Linked DNA regions of Homo sapiens: regions 2, 3, 4 and 5 are each linked to region 1. Evidence: promoter capture Hi-C in 16 types of primary human blood cells and fetal thymus (Javierre and others, 2016). All regions are on one chromosome and are shown on one strand. The core of a region is centred on a gene start or on the middle of the fragment in contact, and the rest is flanking DNA. Distances in the headings are between cores, read along the strand shown. Region 1 holds the start of SMNDC1 (survival motor neuron domain containing 1). Region 2 overlaps ACSL5 (acyl-CoA synthetase long chain family member 5). Region 3 overlaps VTI1A (vesicle transport through interaction with t-SNAREs 1A). Region 4 overlaps ZDHHC6 (zDHHC palmitoyltransferase 6). Region 5 has its middle 19 kb from the start of MIR6715B.

Evidence for each region. The method cuts DNA at HindIII sites, captures the fragments that hold promoters and counts their contacts. A CHiCAGO score of 5 or more calls a contact.
Region 2: a contact is called between a fragment that was not itself captured here and the fragment with the promoter of SMNDC1 in region 1, in 1 of 17 cell types (non-activated CD4 T cells). The highest score is 6.6, in non-activated CD4 T cells.
Region 3: a fragment that was not itself captured here is called in contact with the fragment with the promoter of SMNDC1 in region 1 in 1 of 17 cell types (total B cells); the score reaches 5.1 in total B cells.
Region 4: a fragment that was not itself captured here is called in contact with the fragment with the promoter of SMNDC1 in region 1 in 1 of 17 cell types (non-activated CD4 T cells); the score reaches 5.5 in non-activated CD4 T cells.
Region 5: a contact is called between a fragment that was not itself captured here and the fragment with the promoter of SMNDC1 in region 1, in 2 of 17 cell types (total CD4 T cells and naive CD4 T cells). The highest score is 6.8, in total CD4 T cells.

The regions. Positions count from the first base shown.
Region 1 is chr10:110,303,505-110,307,318 of GRCh38, forward strand. SMNDC1 (survival motor neuron domain containing 1) reads right to left here and starts at 1,416. Exons shown (of 6, transcript NM_005871.4): 1 at 1,244-1,416; 2 at 1-83. The coding sequence starts at 83. RefSeq lists a silencer at 928-1,247. The HindIII fragment of the contact is 6,895 bases long and covers 1-3,814 here.
Region 2 is chr10:112,375,583-112,379,673 of GRCh38, forward strand. All of the region lies in intron 1 of ACSL5 (acyl-CoA synthetase long chain family member 5), which reads left to right. Among named protein-coding and RNA genes, the nearest start is that of ACSL5, 3.5 kb to the left of the region's middle. RefSeq lists enhancers at 235-384, 266-766, 525-744, 767-1,267. The HindIII fragment of the contact is 4,411 bases long and covers 1-4,091 here.
Region 3 is chr10:112,458,842-112,462,821 of GRCh38, forward strand. VTI1A (vesicle transport through interaction with t-SNAREs 1A) reads left to right here. Exons shown (of 8, transcript NM_145206.4): 2 at 1,683-1,741. Among named protein-coding and RNA genes, the nearest start is that of VTI1A, 14 kb to the left of the region's middle. RefSeq lists an enhancer at 2,169-2,463. The HindIII fragment of the contact is 2,929 bases long and covers 1,041-3,969 here.
Region 4 is chr10:112,428,082-112,431,881 of GRCh38, forward strand. ZDHHC6 (zDHHC palmitoyltransferase 6) reads right to left here. Exons shown (of 11, transcript NM_022494.3): 11 at 2,219-2,826. The coding sequence ends at 2,723. ACSL5 (acyl-CoA synthetase long chain family member 5) reads left to right here. Exons shown (of 21, transcript NM_203379.2): 21 at 1-295. Among named protein-coding and RNA genes, the nearest start is that of ZDHHC6, 17 kb to the right of the region's middle. The HindIII fragment of the contact is 1,309 bases long and covers 1,608-2,916 here.
Region 5 is chr10:112,316,274-112,320,171 of GRCh38, forward strand. It overlaps the pseudogene GUCY2GP. Among named protein-coding and RNA genes, the nearest start is that of MIR6715B, 19 kb to the left of the region's middle. The HindIII fragment of the contact is 4,938 bases long and covers 1-3,898 here.

The DNA.
Region 1 (3,814 bases), core at 166-2,665:
TCTCCATTTCCAGATAATGCAGCTTCAACTTGCTGGAGCTGAGCTTTGTAGCTTGCCAGCTGCTTTGCTAAATCCTCTGACATCTAGGGAAAATAAAAAGGGTTAGACCATGAAAACTAAACCAAAAATCAAGGCATAAAAAACTAACTCCCCTGTCTGCCTGAATTACCAGTTTTTGCCTCTAACTCCTTCTAACACTGCAGCTTAATTTACCACCATTACCTTTACTCTCAGTTTAGACTTCAGCTAAACCACAAACTTAAAGGCAACAGATTCTGAGGATTATAAACTTGAGATACATTCCATACTTTAAAAAAGCATACAGATACAAAGAAATTTCTAATTTTCTTTTAACTCCTATCCACAGGGTAGGTGCTGAATTCGGCTCAATAATCAGTGTTATCTTTTTAAAAAGCACTACTCTGTTGGAAAAGTCGAAACTTTCAAAAACAATCCAAATACTTATTTTTAAGCACTACAGTATGCTTCCAAAGCCAAACAAGTGCGTTTTTAAATTAACTACACAAACTACGATCTTTACTTGAACTATTCAATTAAGAGTGTATTTAAAAGTGCCTCTCCAAAACAAAAATCTTTCGCCCAGTCGCTTAAATATTTATCGGTGCATTATCTTCAGCAAAAAGAACAGCACAGGTACTCTCCCATTTAGGCATTCTAACGAATGTGCCTTTCGCCAAATCCAGCTCAGTCATTTTCCTGAAAATAAGATACCAATTAACCTTTTTTGATGGTTTATAAGCAAATGTACCACGTTTCCGAGGACCCTTCTCCTTCGTAAAATTCCCGTCCAACCAAAGGCTGGGAGCCTGCAAAGGCCCCCTAAGAGTTACAGCGACCCAGGCTGCTCTCCTCCCCGCCACGCAGCACCTCAAAGCCCGCCACAACTCGATCATTCGGACGTGGAAATCCACACGCCAGCTCCAAGACCACCGCCGGAGCCCCGCCGCGCTCCAACAGGCAGGCTCCACAGGGAGCCGCGCGGCGCCCAGCCCCACCCGACCCGGTCCCCTGCGGGCCGTGTTTGCCGCCGCCGCACGGAGGCCAGCGCCGGCCGGGCCGCCGAGGCTCAGCTCTGGCTGAGAGACGGCCGTGGCTCCGGGATCCAGGGCCAGCGCCTGGGCGTCTCCGGCGAGGCGGGCTCCTCAGCCTTGGGCCTCCGCTTCACCTCGGGAGGGACCCGGGCCCGGCCAGGCCTTACTCTCTCCCTCAGGGGGGTTGTTACCTTGTGTGGGGCTGGGGGCGGGGCGGCGGGAAGGGGTCGGGGCAAATGAGCCCAGTGGTAGTGGCGGTGGCAGCAGCAGCAGTAGCAGTAGCAGGAAAATCACCGCGACGACAGCAAGGCGACCCGGTCTGAAAAGGAAGAACTCGGTCGGCGGCGAGGGGGAAGGGAGGAACGCCGGGCACTGGAAGGAGGAAAAGACAGAGACGGTGAAGTCTCGCGAGAAATACAAACTCTCGCGCGAGGTCGCTCGACTCACGTGACTCCGCGCGCCCTCTAGCCAGTCCCTGGCTGTCAGGGACACGAAGTAGGCGGGGCCTAGGAAGGAAATGGCGTAGCTGGGCTTCGCCAGGCGCGGAATGCAGGTTATCTTCCTGGAGTTCCGGCTTGGAATTTATTGGAAATGCAAATTCTCAAGCCCCACCCCAGACCTCCTGAATCCAGAGACTCTTGTTTTAATAAGCTCACCAGATGATACCAATGTCCGCTGACGTTTGAGAACCACTGCTTTTCCGGGGCGGTGGTGGTGGGTGGCGGGGGGTGTTGGTGGGGGCTCTCTTTACGTTGCCCTGGCTGGTCTCCAGCTCCTGGGCTCAAGCTATCCTCCTGCATCGGCATCCCAAAATGCTAGGATTACAGGCGTGAGCCACCGCGCCCAGCCTGAGAACCACTACTTTATATGATACAAGCCTTAGTAGTAACAGAAAGCTAATTAAATCGTGACAGAAATAACCTATTGGAGAGAAGATTGATTTCTTTAAAATCTGTTTTGTTAAAACCTACTTGGTTTTAATTTAGTTGGGTTAATCTCGCCTGATAGGGAACAACGTCCAAGTTAGTCTAGAATGGTAAAGAGTGGTAGGAATACTCACATTTGTGTTCAAAAAGAAATGCCCCTTGTGTATGTTTGTAATAATATATACGCTTTCTGGACGGATACACAAAACTGTTCAGAGGTTTGGAGTGGAAGCCAAATGTTTTATTGATTACCCTCTTTGCTGTTTACCCTTTTTCCTTTTCTTTTTTTTTTAAACCATATATATATAATTTATTTCAATTAAAAAAGCAATAAAGGCCTGAGACACAAAGTTTTATATAGATGACAGGAAGCAACCTTTCCTGGGAGGTTGGGAGTTTGTTGCTGGATCCATAAAAAGGCCCACTTCTCGCGGATCACCTGAGGTCAGGAGTTCGAGACCAGCTCGACCACGTGGAGAAACCCCGTCTCTACTAAAAATACAAAAAAAAAAAACCAACAACAACAACAACAACAAAAAGCCGAGCATGTTGGTGCATTCCTGTAATCCCAGCTGCTCGGGTGGCTGAGGCAGGAGAATCGCTTGAACCTGGAGGCGGCGGTTGCGGTGAGCCGAGATCGTGCCATTGCACTCCAGCCTGGGCAGCAAGAGTGAAACTCCGTCTCAAAAAAAAAAAAAAAGGCCCACTTCTCAGATGGGCTCTTTTGAACTGTGCCAACATCTTTAGTTCCTAGTTTTCTTTTCAAGGAGCCTTCCCTTTTGTTCTCTACACACACACACATAACCCTTGCAGTGAGTCAGATAACCTGTATAGATGGAAACTAGGTCGGGTTTGTGAGTGTGAAAGATTGAAATTGCAGCAGAGGGCAGCAGTGTGTAGCTAGAATTAAGAAGGCAGACAAAACAGAAAGCATGTGCTTTTAAATAAATATTCGTTTAAAATAAAATGTAGTTTTAGAGAACTTCTGTTATTGTAATTGTGTGTTTTAAGAACCGATGCGAGGAGGAACTTCCTTGAATATAAAGTCAACCTTATTGTGTAAAAATCTCTTAAATGAGAACTTTTCCTGAACCCCATAGATCAGAAAATAGGCAAATATTCATTATAAGTTCCATCATAGATTTCTATACCATCTTAATAATTTTTTCAGGATTGTTTTTAGGATTGTTTTTATCTATGCAACATTCATTTATAAAGAAAAGCTATATTGAATTTTAATTTTCACAAAGAAATAACAGTTTGTATGTGCCAGATACCATTCTAAGCACTTTACACAGGTTCATTTAATTTTCACAATTGTATGCGGTGTTGCTCCAGACAAAACTGGAGCAGACAAAACTAAGAGCAATACTTCAAATAGGCTTTCTGAATTACTATTTCCTTTGAAGTGTCAAAATTTACTTTCAGTGTCTGATTTTTCTTAAAACATTTGCATTCAAACTTAATCATGTTTATTTAAAAAAAAGTATCTTAAACCTTTAGTTTTGAAACGTGATATTTATTTTATTGAAAGACAGTAAATAAATAAAATGTAAAGGCTCCAAATTGTCATCAGAATATACAGCTATTTCCTTTCTACTAAAGAAAATTAAAGTATGGCATGATGGCACCCAGCTACTTGGAAGGCTGAGAAGGGCATCCAGAAGTTTGAGGCTGCAGCACACACTGACTGTGCCTGTGAATAGCCGCTGCATTCCAGCTCGGGCAACATAGTGAGATCCTGTCACAAATTTTAAAAAATTAATTTTTTTTTAGATGGATTCTCCCTCTGTCACCCAGGTTGAAGTGTAGTGGTGCAGTCTCAGCTCACTGCAA
Region 2 (4,091 bases), core at 786-3,285, 2.1 Mb after region 1:
TCGGCTTCCTAATCTGAGAATGGTAGCTCCAGGGCCCCCCTGTAGCCACAGCCTTAGGCGGATCAAAAATGAGACTAATACAGGTCCTGGTAATACTGGGGGTGACCAAGGCGAAAGAATCGATTTTTAAGTTAAGTTTTGAGGTGTGACTGTATCAGAGGGAAAGAAACCATGCCAATTGAACGACTCACAGCCCTGTCGTTCCTGACTTGCTTATTTTCTTGGCTTTGCCAGAACTTCTTCAGAGACCAAGGCAGGCAGCTCTGGCGACTGGAGAGAGGCGGGGTAGAAGGTGTTTGTGTGGGTCTGAGGGCTGAGGTACCCTCTAGCCAGACTTTCCTGTCCTCCGAATCCAGCAGGGAACAGCGTCACCTCTGCCTCTGTGAGGCTTCTGATCTGAGGGGGCACCTCAAGTCATTTTAGTTTGTTTGTTTTCATCTTAGTTGAAAGATGATAGGCCACAGGAGGGCAGGGTCAACTGTGTTGAGGCAAGCTGGCTTTTGTGTCGGCCCTTAGGGGCTGAGGTGAAAGGCTTTGACACGGAGCCAGGGTAGCTTTGGCAGCTTCTCCCCTCCTGGTCAGAACACTTCCACTTTCAGTTGTGAAAAAAAAAATTAAAACCAGGAAGTGAAGTCCCCGAGCACGTTAGAAAGCCTGACATGGCCTGACTCGGGACAGCTCAGAGCAGGGCAGAACTGGGGACACTCTGGGCCGGCCTTCTGCCTGCATGGACGCTCTGAAGCCACCCTGTCTCTGGAGGAACCACGAGCGAGGGAAGAAGGACAGGGACTCGTGTGGCAGGAAGAACTCAGAGCCGGGAAGCCCCCATTCACTAGAAGCACTGAGAGATGCGGCCCCCTCGCAGGGTAAGGGGACCATCGAGGGGGTGTTATTCAGCAAGGGGGTCTTGTGAGGGTGTGACAGAGGCCAAGGGGGCATCCTGACCCCCGACTTTCTTTAAGCGACTTAGAATCAAGGGCCGGCTGAGTTCCACGGGCACATCATGCTGTCTCCCTCCTGGTCTCGGTCATGCCTTCAGACCCTGTGTCAGGAGGAGCAACGGGAAGGAAGGATGTGGGGCATGCATGGGGCTCACTTTCCTTCTCTCGACTCTCTTGGGGAAGGTGAACCAAAACAGAGACCTCTTTTTGTGGGTCTGAGCATCCAGCATAGCTCCCCTGAGGTGGGCTGGGGGTTTGCCCTCAATTTTATGTTGGGTAAGACTGATGAATGAGACCAATGGGGTGGGAGAGACAGATGAATGGAGCTGAGTGTATTTTAGGAAGTAAGGCCACAGGTTAAGTCTCAGGTGCTGCTTAATTCCTAAGTACTTCCTTCCCAATGCCCACTCCCTGAGGGTCCTAAGGTGAATCTCAAAGACCCTCAGGGAGTAAGCACTGGAAAGGGACTCTACCACTGGAGACCCTCAGGGAATAAGCACTGGAAAGGGACTCTACCACCGGAGACCCTCAGGGAATAAGCACTGGAAAGGGACTCTACCACCGGAGACCCTCAGGGAATAAGCACTGGAAAGGGACTCTACCACCGGGGCTTGGTACCTTCTGAGATATCAGCCTTTTTTTGGTGGTCTGAAAGGTAGAATTGAATCTATAGCTCCAATGTGTAGGTGATTAGTATTCTATATCAGAGGCAGAGTCTTAAAAAATAAAGTTAAGGCCGGGCGCAGTGACTCACACCTGTAATCCCAGAACTCTGGGAGTCTGAGGTGGGTGGATCACCTGAAGTCAGGAGTTAGAAACCAGCCTGGCCAACATGGCGAAACCCCATCTCTACTGAAAATACAAAAATTAGCTTGGCGTGGTGGCGTACGCCTGTAATCCCAGCAACTCAGGAGGCAGGACAATTGCTTGAACCTAGGAGGCGGAGGTTGCAGTGAGCCGAGATGGCACCACTGCACTCCAGTTTGGATGACAGAGCAAGACTCTGGCTCAAAAACAACACACAAACAAACAAATAAAAAAACATTGAAAACTGACTTAGTTTTCTTTTAAAAAAGGAGTAATTGGTTTTGTTTATTTCTCCCTTCATATTCTGATATGGAGTCACTCTGTGGTAGTCCCCTCCGATTGATCAGTATTCAAGGTTAAACACAGAACATGTCTTGAAAGAGGCATGGTGTAAAATTTTATAGCCATCTTTTGTGTATTTGGCATAATAAAAGGAACAAAAACCTAAATAAAACAAGAAGTGTAAGTGCAAATGCTTATAGGACAGGCAAGTAATATAGAGAAGTAAAGTAGATGGTGTGTAATAAGATGCTAATGGTGGAAACTTTAGCAAAATTCAGAGCAGGCATACCCCAGATAAATGCATTCAAATTTAATTATTAAAAAAGAGAAAACACTTTTTAATCCAGACCAAACAGAATATTTCAGCCTAGCCTGACCTAAAATAGTCTCTCCCAGGCTATATTGTAATTTTTTGAGGGCAAAGACACCAACAACAACATCAGCGTGTCATTGCATACCTAACCATCCACCTATAGTGAGACCACAGATACTACATGGAGGCTGGAGATGGAGGAAGGAGAGAGAAATGAATGGAGAGAGGGAAGATGAAGCCAGGGAAGTACCAGTACACAGTAGGTACTCTTATATTTAATCAAGACAATCTTCTTCTTCTTGTTTTTTTTTTTTTTTTTTTTTTTTTTTTTTTGGAGGAGCCTCACTCTGTCACCTAGACTCCCAGGCTTGAGTGCAGTGGCAACATCTTGGCTCACTGCAACCTCTGCCTCCCCAGTTCAAGCAATTCTCCTGCCTCAGCCTCCTGAGTAGCTGGGATTACAGGCATGCACCACCATGCCCAAATAATTTTTGTACTTTTAGTAGAGACAGGGTTTCACCATATTGGCCAGGCTGGTCTCAAACTCCTGACCTCAAGTTATCTGCCTGCCTAGGCCTCCCAAAGTGCTGGGATTACAGGTGTGAGCCACTGCACCTGGCCTATAGGATTTGCCAGCTTCTTAGAAACCAGGAATACAGTGTCTGCTCCTGTCTGTCTCTCATATGCCTCCTCAGCAGATGAGCAGACCCTCAGCTGGAGTGCAGTCAGAGGTGACTCTTGTGCCTGGCAGCATCAAGCAAGGGTGACGTAACCCCAGCAGCCATGAGTCCAGCCATCACTGCTTATCACATTCTGCTGGAAATGCATCTGGGTCTATTTCTCCCCTCTATGTCTGTACATCCTGAGGTCGGAAAGGGACTCTCTCACCAACTTGTCCTCCCTGGCGCAGGGCCTGACACTTCCTAGGTTCTCAACTCATTGTTTGAATAAATACATGAGATCTGGAGTTTGGAAGGTCAGACAGCCCGTGCAATGCTGTGGTCAGGCCACACTATTAGCCTTCTTTGGGGAAGCTGGTGGATCTCCCAGTCTTCATGGGCCATTCTATTCTAAGAGTTGTGAGGTTGCGAGTGGCTCAAGTTGAGGATTTGAGGTCTGGGGTAAAGCTAGGTCAGAGACAGGCCATGGTTCCCTACAACTAGAAGTGCTCTGTTTAAATAGAAATGAGGGCTTGTTGGCCGGGCGCAGTGGCTCATGCCAGTAATCCCAACACTTTGGGAGGCCGAGGCAGGCAGATCACTTGAAATCAGGAGTTTGAGACCAGCCTGGCCAACATGGTGAAACCCCATCTCTGCTAAAAATACAAAAGCTAGCTGGGCGTGGTGGCAGCTGCCTGTAATCCCAGCTACTCGGGAGGCTGAGGCAGGAGAATCGCTTGAACCCAGGAGGCGGAGGTTGCAGTGAGCTGAGATCTCGCCACTGCACTCCAGCCTGGGTGACAAGAGTGAAACTCCATCTCAAAAAAAAGAAAAAAAAAAAAAAGAGATGAGGGCTTGTTAAAACCTTTGCACAGAAGTGGAGGGGCAGTAATCGTTCAAGACCGTGGTCATCTCTTTTCTTTTGGGACATCTCGTAATAGAACATCTGATATTGGCAAGGATGTGAAAACTGAGGAAAAGGGAAGGAAAGGGGAGCTAGATTTGATTGAGGACTTCCCATGTGCCTGACAGCATACCAACTGTTCTACACACAGCATCTCCTTTAAGTAGCGATTTTCACCTGCTCCT
Region 3 (3,980 bases), core at 1,255-3,754, 2.2 Mb after region 1:
ATTTTTAGTAGAGACGGGGTTTCACTATGTTTGCCAGGGTGGTCTCAAACTTCTGACCCTGTGATCCACCCATCTAGGCCTCCCAAAGTGCTGAGGTTACAGGCGTGAGCCACCGCGCCCGGCCAGTGAAATAATAATTTCTATTAAAGCTTCCCCACTTAGGATTGGCTGTCCTTCTGAAGGCTGGTCAGCTGGTAGGTGTTGTACCCATTTCAAGCTTCATGACTTTTCTAGTCTGTTGTGTTAGTCAGTCTCATTAGGCTCCCATGTGACATAAACCCAGTTTTAAATAAAGAACAAGAAAGTTGTTGGCTCAAGAAACCAAACTATGGTAAAGTCAAGCTTTTATAAAGTCAAGCCATTTCAGTTATTTCAAGCCAGGAACTAACTATATCTCTCTCTCTCTGTCTCTCAGTTGTGTTTCTTTTTAAATGCAGGTTTTATTTTCAGCCATTGCACGCTTGCTTTCTTCTTGGAGCTAGACCAATGGATGCTAGCAGCGCTTCTAGGCTCATTTTTTCGTTACCAGGAGAAAGGAAAAGGCTTTCCCCTTGCTCTAGAACTTTGTTCTCTCTGGTTCATATATGCCTATCCCACCGCCCAACTCCCAGATGAATGTGGCCAGAGGATTGAGTTACTGAGATTAGTCCAGCTAGGATTAGATGCCGGTCATTTGCCAAGTCACTGTGACTGAAGAAGCAGAGTCTTTATGGAGATAGCATTTTCATTGTCCTGCTTGGTGAGGAAGAAGGCCTTTGAAGAGAGTAGGGGCTGTTGCCTGAGAAGAGAAGCATGCTAGGCAGACAAAAACTAGAGATGTTCAATACATCTGGTTTGCACAAAACTTAACTAGGGTATGTGAACAAATAGGCTGACTGGCTGGAATGAGGGTATGGGAAAGCTTTCTGAAATTGTCTGCCAGGACATGTCTCTCCTAGAGAAGGGAATTACAGTTGGGTTATAACTTGATTGTATTAGAAAAATAAACCACATACAGAGACTTAGCACTTTATAATATTAAAGTAATTTCACTTGCATCAAGCTTATTGGAGCTAAAAGTAATCCCGTAGATATTTTTTATTTCCATTTTAGAGAGTACAGAGTGAGTCTCAGAAAAAAAGAGAAAAATTTCTTGCCCAGGATCCCATAACCATTGAGTGAGATAGTAGCTTTCGGTTTGGAATCAGTAGTCCTAACTTCAAATATTTATTCCATTACACCTGATTCTCCATGCTACTGAAAGTACAATTTTTTAAAGGATTGTTTTTGCCCAGTTTTAGGAAGTGTTTTTGTATATAACTTTTAAATTGTATTAACAAATCAGTTATTCCCAATTTATTAAAGTTATGACTTCACAGATTCCTTAGGCCAGCACAAATCTGCTCTTGTTGACTTAGTCTCTCCTAAAGGGCAACATAATTTTTAGTCTCTCTTAAAAATAGGTCTCTCTTAAAAATGGTGTCTCTTAATAATTAGGTATTCTATCAGATTATATGTTTCTAGATAGCCTGGAATCAATGGCTTAAAGTGGTTTCAAACCCACCAAAGAATGATATGCTCTTTTGCCTTATGTTCTGTAATCTGATTGACCAGAAAGGAAAAAGGCATATAAAAATTGAAGTTTTAAAATATTAAATTTATTTGTATCTTTAGCAATTTCTTGGTATTATTGTTTGTTTCAGATGAAAAGAAACAGATGGTTGCAAATGTGGAGAAACAGCTTGAAGAAGCGAAAGAACTGGTATGTACAGACAGTAATGTATTTTAACACACAGCCAGAGCCGTTTAAGCTAATGTCTTCCTCTAGCCTGTTTTATACATTGTGGAAATGTGAAGCATTGCTGATTAGCATTTTATAATTCAGAATTTGTCAATTTTTAAATTGAAGAGATTTTAGTAGCTTCTTGGGATTTTATTCTTCTTAGCAAAGGTGATTCATTAAATATCTATCTCTAATTTTTATTCCATCATAATACGTTTCATAACAGCTGTAAATAGCTAATGCTGGATAAAGGCATACTGGGTACCAGACACTGGATTAAAAATACTACTTGCTTTATAATATTTAATTTTCTCAATAACCATGTGAGACAATATTATTTGTCAAAAATGATAAAGGGTCTGATATTTTCTGCTATTTGCAAACTCTCAAGTGACTCACTTGCTTGCTACAGTTTCATAGATGACTATGTCTCATGTCTTCTCTAAGACATGAGACTCCTAGGTCAGAGACAAAAGATTTTTATTACCCACAACAATAGCAGTTGCCTGTGTTTCAGGCTGGTTGCATCAGTTCCTGAGTCTGAATTCCCACAGTGGTGATGCAGGCAGGCCTAGATGTATGCTTACAACAGCATTAGAATACCTTAGAGGAATAGAACGAGAGCCTAGAAAATGTGCCACTTTCTAGCAGCCTATAAGCAAGGCTGTTGTTTGTCCCAGGGGGACACATTATTTCCTCTCCCTGAGCTCCCCGCAAACCCAATCCTGAAAAATGGCTCAGACAGAGTCCTCAGGACCTTGTATTCTTGGCAGACCAGGCAAGACATGTAGCAGCATGAGAGAACCTTGGCCAAGTGATTCTCAACACTGTTACCACTCCCATTTTGTGGATGGGGAGACTGAGACTTAGAAAGATGAAGTAACTTGTTGGAGGTCCCAAATCCTGTTAAGTGATAGAGTAAATATTTGTTCCTAGTTTGCTAAACTCAGAGCTCTGGTTCATCTACTACTTTTTTATATAAATACATCAGTAAAACATGGAGCAAAAAAGGACTAAAAGTATTGTGTCTTAATTTGGGGTTTTAAAAGCTAACTACTACAAGCATGACTCAACTTGTTACTATGCATTGTGGCCCTATGAGTGTGTTGCTTTTCTATTTTATTTTATTTTTGATATAAAGTCTCACTCTGTCACCCAGACTGGAGTACAGTGGCACAATCTCGGCTCACTGCAACCTCTGCCTCTTGGGCTCAAGCGATTCTCATGCCTCAGTGCTCCAAGTAGCTGGGATTACAGAGCAATACCACACTTGGCTACTTTGTTTGTTTGTTTGTAGAGAGGGGGTTTTGTCATGTTAGCCAGGCTGGTCTTGAACTCGTGCCCTCAAGTGATCTGCCCGCCTTGGCCTCCCAGAGTGCTGGGATTACAGGCATGCACCACCATGCCTGGCTAATTTTGTATTTTCAGTAGAGACAGGGTTTCACCATGTTAGTCAGGCTGGTCTTGAACTCCTGACCGCAGGTGATCCACCCACCTTGGCCTCCCAAAGTGCTGGGATTACAGGCCTGAGCCACTGTGCGCAGCCGATACTGCCCTTTTGATGAGGACCTTGGGAGAAAAACTCTTTTGATTTGACTATTGGGATTAATTGTGTTTCTGCTGACCATCTGATTTGTATTAGTCTCTTGGACACTACACATCTTGCAATGATCTTTTCTCCCACTCTGCACTGGCCACATAAATGTTGTGACAACATGGAACAAGTGCACATTAGCCTCATTCTTGGTTTCATTTTAAGTGCTTGTTGTGTGTTTCCTTTTTCTGTCTTACCTACTTTTAATTTAGTTTTAAATATCCATATAAAATATCTTCAACAAAAATATACTTAAGGCTCAGATTTTGGCTTGCAAGTATTTTTGCTGTTATTTTTCCAGATGATCCTGTTTACCTTGTTAGAACTAAATAATTGATGATCTCAGAGAGTTATTTTAAATAATTTTCTTGCTAAGTAATGATTTTATTTATTGGTGCTTCTCATTTATGTTGAGACATAATCATTTAAACTATCACTGTTTAAATCAAGGCTAATTAAAATTATCTTTTTTCTTTATAATAAATTGAAGCCTATTAATTGAAAGGTGATTGTGTGGTTTATCTGTATGCTACTGTAGTTATTCAGTCGCTAACACTGAATACAGGTTTTATTAGTGATAAGCTGGTAGGGTTCCGGAAGGAACTTATTAGAAAGCTTTAAAAG
Region 4 (3,800 bases), core at 1,012-3,511, 2.1 Mb after region 1:
GTAAATCTGTTCCCTACAGTTTGCTGCTGAGCTGGAAGCTGTGGGGGAAGGAGTTGACAGGTGGGCCCAGTGAACTTTTCCAGTAAATGAAGCAAGCACTGAATAAAAACCTCCTGAACTGGGAACAAAGATCTACAGGCAAGCAAGATGCCCACACAACAGGCTTATTTTCTGTGAAGGAACCAACTGATCTCCCCCACCCTTGGATTAGAGTTCCTGCTCTACCTTACCCACAGATAACACATGTTGTTTCTACTTGTAAATGTAAAGTCTTTAAAATAAACTATTACAGATACTTACGTTGTGGTGTTTCTTTCCTCATGGACCATGATGAAAATCAGTCTTAAACAAGGACCCCTTAAAAATCAAGTACAGTATCTGTTCTTAAACTTGGGTACACAATAGAATTATCTAGGAAGTTTAAAAAGACACTAATGCCCAGCACTTTGGGAGGCCGAGGCGGACGGATCATGAGGTCAGGAGACCGAGAACATCCTGGCTACTATGGTGAAACCCCATCTCTACTAAAAATACAAAAAACTAGCTGGGCGTGGTGGCGGGCACCTGTAGTCCCAGCTACTCAGAAGATTGAGGCAGGAGAATGGCATGAACCCGAGAGGCGGAGCTTGCAGCGAGCCGAGATCGCACCACTGCATTCCAGCCTGGGTGAAAGTGTGAGACTCTGTCTCAAAAAAAAAAAACAAAAACAAAACAAAAAAACCACTAATGCCTGGTTGCCACTCCAGGGATTCTGGCTTAAATGGCCGGATACAGCCTGGGCACTGAGATTGTTAAGAAGACCCACAGATGATTCTAGTCTGCGAACAGGTTAGTGAAGAAAAGTAAGTTCTGAAGACCAAACCTTCTTATCCCATAGCTGTAAAGAATAAAACAAATACCAGCTGAGCCAAAACTCCAACTGAGCACAAGTCATATCCATTCTTTTACCATCTTTGTTGTACTCTAATTATAATCTTGAATATTAATAGTATTCTTTTCTGGCCTCCAACTGGAGTTAAAGAGAATGTTCTTGGATGGTCTTTCTAGATTTTGAGCCCAGAAAAGCCAAAGAAATATCTATTCTTAAGGATCTGAAACAAAAGGGTAGGCAGGAATTAACTTTTAAAGTCTAGCTCCCATTATCACTTTAACTTTCTCGCCTTCACTTCCTTTCCTATTCTCCCCTCACGCATTACAGCTGAACCTCACTAGTTACCTTCCTGTTTCTCAAACGTGTCAGACACAGGTCCAGCCTGTTTTTGTTCTTGCTGCTGTCTCTAAAATGCAAATATCCCAAAGCACATGACTTGTCCCCTCATCTGCTTCAAATGCCAACTCAAGACTGTCCTACCTTCTTGCTTCACAATAACATGACTCCATCTTACATATATTTTACCTGTCTGTTCACTGCTGAATTCCCAAGTGCTCTTCCCTTATCCTCAACTATTACAGGCCTGGCCCCCAAAGCTTCACATTCCCTGCCTTGGAAAGGTTTCTGAAGTCCAGAGAAATAGGCTTTCTCTTTCCTTCTGTGATTCCACTGTTATGTTTAGACAAGCCCAATTTAAGCATCCAAGCCCACCAGCTTGGATCCTACCACTCACACAAGCTTCAGCTTTTTACTCAAGGGTACATGAGTAGTTTGATATCACTATGTTTAAAGTCTAGAACACTACTGCCACGGGATCCTTGGGGTGTTGCTTCCCCAGCTGGAATCCTCTGTGGCTGGCAGCCCAAAGTCCAGAGGGGGCCTAGGCGGCAGGGCGCTGGTGTCAGCACCACTCAGAGCTCACGTACACCTGGCCAGGTCCTCACAGCACCCGGGCTTGGCCTCACCTTTGCTCCAGAGCGAGTGCCAGGAGCAGGAAGAGGCCAAGCAGTTGTTGGGGGGGGGGTGTGGGGGGGGTATTTCCCCTCGGCCCCCTAGAGCACAAGGATGCCCGGGTCCGCAGCCACGGCTGGACAGCTGTAGCTACGCTTGGCTCCTGCCTATCACGGCTCCCCCTCAACACCCCTCAGGCCACCACTGCCATCCGCTGCCATCACTATGACCGCAATATCCCATTAATAGGGTTAATATCTTGAAGCAAGTGTGTCATGTCTTAAGCCACGTTTTAAGATGCCAGTTGTCCACAGGGCAGCAGAGCAGTTTTTCCATAAGGAACTAAGATGAACCTTTTTAGTCAGCAAAAAGAAAAATGCTTTAAGTAAAAACTGATTATACCCAACATCCATTGATCTTTATTTGATTTGACAAAATCTGCATTTTTAAAAGACAGGTAACAAAATCTGAGGTTATACTGAATCTGACAAATTGAGTTCTATAGTATCTAGAATATCATATAAGAAATATCAACTGAGGGAAAAGAGAAGTACCACATGCAGATGCTCCTGGCAAGGGGGGAACTGTATCTGCAGGTGAGGTCCAGAGTGTGCAGTGCATAAGAAAATCCTACAGAAAATGCCGTTAACTTACTTGGATGAAATGTTTTTCCTTTGAGGGGGAGGAAGAGGTGGTAAAGAGGGGCAGGAATTCAAAGGCATATGCAGAATGGCTTCTCCATTTCAAAATGGTAATAAAAATATTTAAATCATGGCACTAGGGCACCTTTGAGGAAAAGAACATCTTAACCAGAGTAGGCTCATTGCATAATTCTTTAGTAATATGTACAATTTTCAAGTAATTAAGCAGACTTAAAGGATAATTTTGTTTTAACAGCAGCTATCTATTTTTCTTCTCCCCCTCTGGGGCTTGATCTGTTTCAGCATCACAGGGACACTTTTCCACACATTTTCTAGGGAACCAACCCCTTATTCTTGAAACACCTGAGGGAGAAAATGAAATTGAGGTGAAATAGTCTGATGGATGACAGTGACATTACTGAAAGCAGTAAGTCCTATTACTTCAAATTAATAAGCTTGTAGTTAGACTTTTATTCCCCACTTTGCTATCTATTATAAGCACAGTTTGAAGGGGAAAAAAATAAGATTTTTAAATGTTCATAACAAGCTAGGAACAGGTATTTCCCAAATTTGATGATCCCGAATAGGGACTAATGTGGTTAAAGACAGCTCCTAACTAGAGTCAGGGGGAACTCGGTATGGGTGTTTACTTATATGTGTATGATCAGGAAAGGTGTTTTTGGCACACCATCACACTGTCTTTTCCAGGGAACTATCTTCTTGTAGTCTTTGTAAATTTCCTTTTTAGACTTTTTCTAACATATATATTTCTTTCTTTTTTTTTTTTGAGATGGAGTCTTGCTCTGTCACCTAGGCTGTAGTGCAGTGGCACGATCTCAGATTACTGCAACCTCTGCCTCCCGGGTTCAAGCAATTCTCCTGCCTCAGCCTCTGGAGCAGCTGGGATTACAGGCACACACCACCATGCCCGGCTAATTTTTGTATTTTTAGTAGAGATAGGGTTTCACCATGTTGGCCAGGCTGATCTTGAACTCCTGACCTCAGGTGATCCATCTGCCTTGGTCTCCCAAAGTCCTGGGATTACAGGCATGAGTCACCACACCTGGCCTAACATATACATTTCTATATCACGGCCGTCATAAGAGGTTAATTTATGATTAACCCCAACTATTTTTTAAAGAACATCCCGAGCTAATCTTTACTTTAAAAAGAAACAATTATAAAACTTAAGAAAAAAAAAAACACAAAGTTTCAATCTACTGGTTTTTATAACAACTTAAGAGAAATGCTCAAAGTGGGGGCAGCAAATAGTACAGGGGTTTGGTGCATAGAATCTGGAGTCAGACTGCTTGGGGTTAAGCCCTAGCTCCATCTGT
Region 5 (3,898 bases), core at 1,015-3,514, 2.0 Mb after region 1:
TCACAGCAACCTCCACCACCCAGGTTCAAGCGATTCTCCTGTCTCAGCCTCCTGAGTAGCTGGGGTTATAAGTGTGTGCCATCACGCCCAGCTAATTTTTGTATTTTTAGTAGAGATGGGGTTTCACCATGTTGGTCAGCCTGGTCTCAATCTCCTGATCTCAGGTGATCCACCTGCCACGGCGTCCCAAAGTGCTGGGATTATAGGCTTGAGCCACCACACCCAGCCTCATTTGTTAATTTTAAAAATCATTTAAAAATGATTTTTAAAATTTAAAAACTATTACGAGCTTGGAAATGCAGAACCCAGGGCTATTGTGTTAAGAATGCATAGCTGAGGCCAGATACGGTGGCTCTTGCCTGTAATCCCAGCACTTTGGGAGCCCAAGGCAGGCAGATCACCTGAGGTCAGGAGTCTGAGACCAGCCTGGCCAGCATAGCGAAACCCTGTCTCTACTAAAAATACAAAAATTAGCCAGGCATGGTGGCACACACCTGCAGTCCTAGCTGCTCAGGAGGCTGAAGCATGAGAATCACTTGAAGCCGGGAGGCAGAAATTGCAGTGAGCCAAGATCATGCCACTGCACTCCAGCCTGTGCAACAGAGCCAGACCCTGACTCCAAAAAATGTTTTGTTTTGTTTTTTTAAATAATGCATAGCTGAAGGTCCAAATTAAGAGTAGACACCTGATTCCTAGCCTGGGGCTCTTTCTACCAACTCAAGCTACCTCTAACATGGGCATGTCTTCCTAAATTCATGTACTAAAAGATGATACAATTATCTGGTGTAAAGGAAGCTACTATTGAGAAAGTTGTTGGAGAGGAATGCGTAATTTAAGTCATAACCTACTCTATGGGTGGTGAGTAATTTTTATCCCACAGTCCAGTCCAAATTGATTAGCCTAACCCTTGGAATGCTGATTTGAAAAAGACTCTGAAGCCATGTCAAAACTCCCTGGAAACAAGGGCCTTAATTGATTAGTGACACCTGAGATAGACAAAGAAGGCAGTAGAATTATTAATATCTGATCCATTTTTGTGGCATTTATGAAATAAAGGAAAAATTTCTCACTCCACTGTAACCAGCATGTAGTACAGTGTTTTGTGTATGGTAAGCACTGAGTGAGTGTATGAGGAAGGAAGAAAGGAAGGAAGGAAGGGAGGAAGGGAGGAATGGAGGAAGGGAGGAGGGAGGAAGGGAATGAGTCACATAGAACCAATCACGGCCATATAGATTTAATTTTGTTTTGTTTTGTTTTTTAGAAACAGGGTCTCGTTCTGTCACCCAGGCTGGAGTGCAGTGGCACAATCATAGCTCACTGCAGCCTTGACCTCCAGGGCTCAAGCAATTCTCAGCCCCCCTAAGAAACTCAAACTACAGGCTCACACCACCACGCCTGGCTAATTTTTTATTTTATTTTATTTTTTATAGATACAGAAACTCACCATGTTGCCCAGGCTGGTCTTGAACTCCCGGCCTCAAGGGATCCTCCTGCCTTAGCCTCCTAAATCACTGGGATTACATGCATGAGCCACCATGCCCAGCAGCTCTAAAATCCTAATGGTTAACTGAGTGAGAGCAAATATCTGTTGCACATCTAACTCACCCTCTGGGACTGGCCTCTCGTAAAGTTTTCTTGATGGAAGAGAAACTGGGTCTTTTCTCCAGAGATTCATCCCAACACACCCTCACCATGGCCACGATCTTTTCATTGCCCTTCTCCTCGGGCAGGGAAGGTTGCAGTGGGACTGCTGCTGCAGGGTCTTTGATTTGGTTGATGATTTCTGAAATTCATGTTGGGTTTAGACAGCCAAACATCAGAACTTTGTGCCACTTACTACACTTCATTTTCAATAGTAATTGTGCTCTTATATTTGTAAACTGAGTTTTTAAATAAATAGAACAGATTAGAATTCCAAAGTAATCTGGATATTTTAATAGGAATACTCTGAGAATCTGCCTGGAAAATGAACAATTCTAATGAAAAACATATAAACAAACATCCTCCTAATTAATTTGTTTTCAAATCAAGATTTTTTAAAATAGAACTTTGCTTGAGGAGAAGCATATCTCTATATGATTTCAGGAATGTATAGGCATTTCGTGTTGGAAACCCCCAAAGCGCGCTTCATGCAATTTTGTTAAATTTTCTGTAATATGTCGCAGAAATGCTATTTTAACACGTAATAAATGTTACCATCATGTCCTGCCTCTCTGTCCGATTTTCTAAACCTAATTTTTCCCACTTCTTCACTGGCTCCTACTGACATTTATTAAACATTCTGCTTAACCAGATGTTGTCAAGAAAATAATATTTTGAGAACAATGTATACATGTTTTGGCATAAAAATAAAAATACTGTGTGTGCAACAACATGGATAAGTCTTACATGCATTATTACTAAGTTAGAGAAACCAGTCAGAAAAGGCTGTGTACTGTATGATTCTATTTACATGGCACCCCAGAAGCAACAACACGCAAGCAGCAGTGGGCATATCTAGCATCATTTCTTTCTTTCTTTCTTTTTTCTTTTCTTTTTTTTTTCTTTTTTTTTTTTTTTTTTTTGAGATAGACTCTGGCCCTGTTGCCCAGGCTGGAGTGCAGTGGTGTGATCTCCGCTTACTGCAACCTCCGCCTCCTGGGTTCAAGCGACTCTTCTGCCTTAGGTTCCCCAGTAGCTGGAACTACAGGCATGCGCCACCACGCCCAGCTAATTTTTGTACTTTTAGTGGAGATGGGGTTTCACCATGTTGGCCAGGATGGTCTCGATCTCTTGACCTCGTTATCTGCTTACTTTCTAATACCTTTCTCCAACAAAAGAAGTCATGGCTTCTTGGAGAATTGACTGCATCTAGCACTGGGGCAGGAGATATGCAAAATGAGACTTTCTTGTCTTCCCAGAAATTAAGGAAATATACATTCTAGAAAAGACAAAATTTTAGAGACAGAAAACAGATCAGTGTTTTCCAAGAGTTTGAGGAGCAGAGAGCGTTGACTAGGTGAAGTGCAGGGGATAATTTTAGGATGAGGAAACTTTTCTGTAGGATACTATAGTGGTGGATAGATGACACTATGTATTTACCAAAACCCATAGAGCTTAATAGCACAAAAGTAAGCCATAAGGAAAGCAAACTTTAAAAAATACCAATTGGGAAATTAGGCAACCCCAAGATAGAATGCAAACAGCGATAAAAGAATCTAACAGTGTTACAAATATATGGCATAACCTTACTGAATGGGATGAGTGAGAAAGAATGCTGACCTACATCGCTTGTGAAATCACTAGAAACTTTCTAAGACTAAAGGCAAAAGGAACTATTCATAATCATCGTACTCTAGTTGGTAAAACTGTTTCTCATGGGGATGCAGATTAACAAGTCTAAAATCACCGAACACACACATAGGGATCGAACAAAGTACATGGATGGTGGATGGTGGGAGCCAGTATCTCAATGTTGGAATTTACAGAAAAGTAATGGGGAAGACTGCAATGAACCGTGATGGCGATGAGTTAGATTTGGAGACGTCAATGGGAACTCATGTTTAGTTTAATGTAGATGCAGATATATGTGTATGGGTGCATGTGTAGTTATAGAGATATGTATACATACGGGTTAGTATGCACACGCATTTCCCTACTCTGTCCACTGAGAAGGCCCATAAGCAACAACACTCCGGTAGCAATGAGCGTATCTAGTGTCAGCTCTAACTTTCTAATACCTTTCTCCAACAAAAGCAGCCAGGGCTTGTTGGAGAGAACTGGTTGCTTCTAGCACTGGCGCAGGGATATGCAAAATGAGACTTTCTTGTCTTACCAGAAAGTAAGGAAATACACAGAAACAAGACAAAACACCACAGCGATGGCTACATGTCAAAGAGACACAGAAGCCACCTGAAAC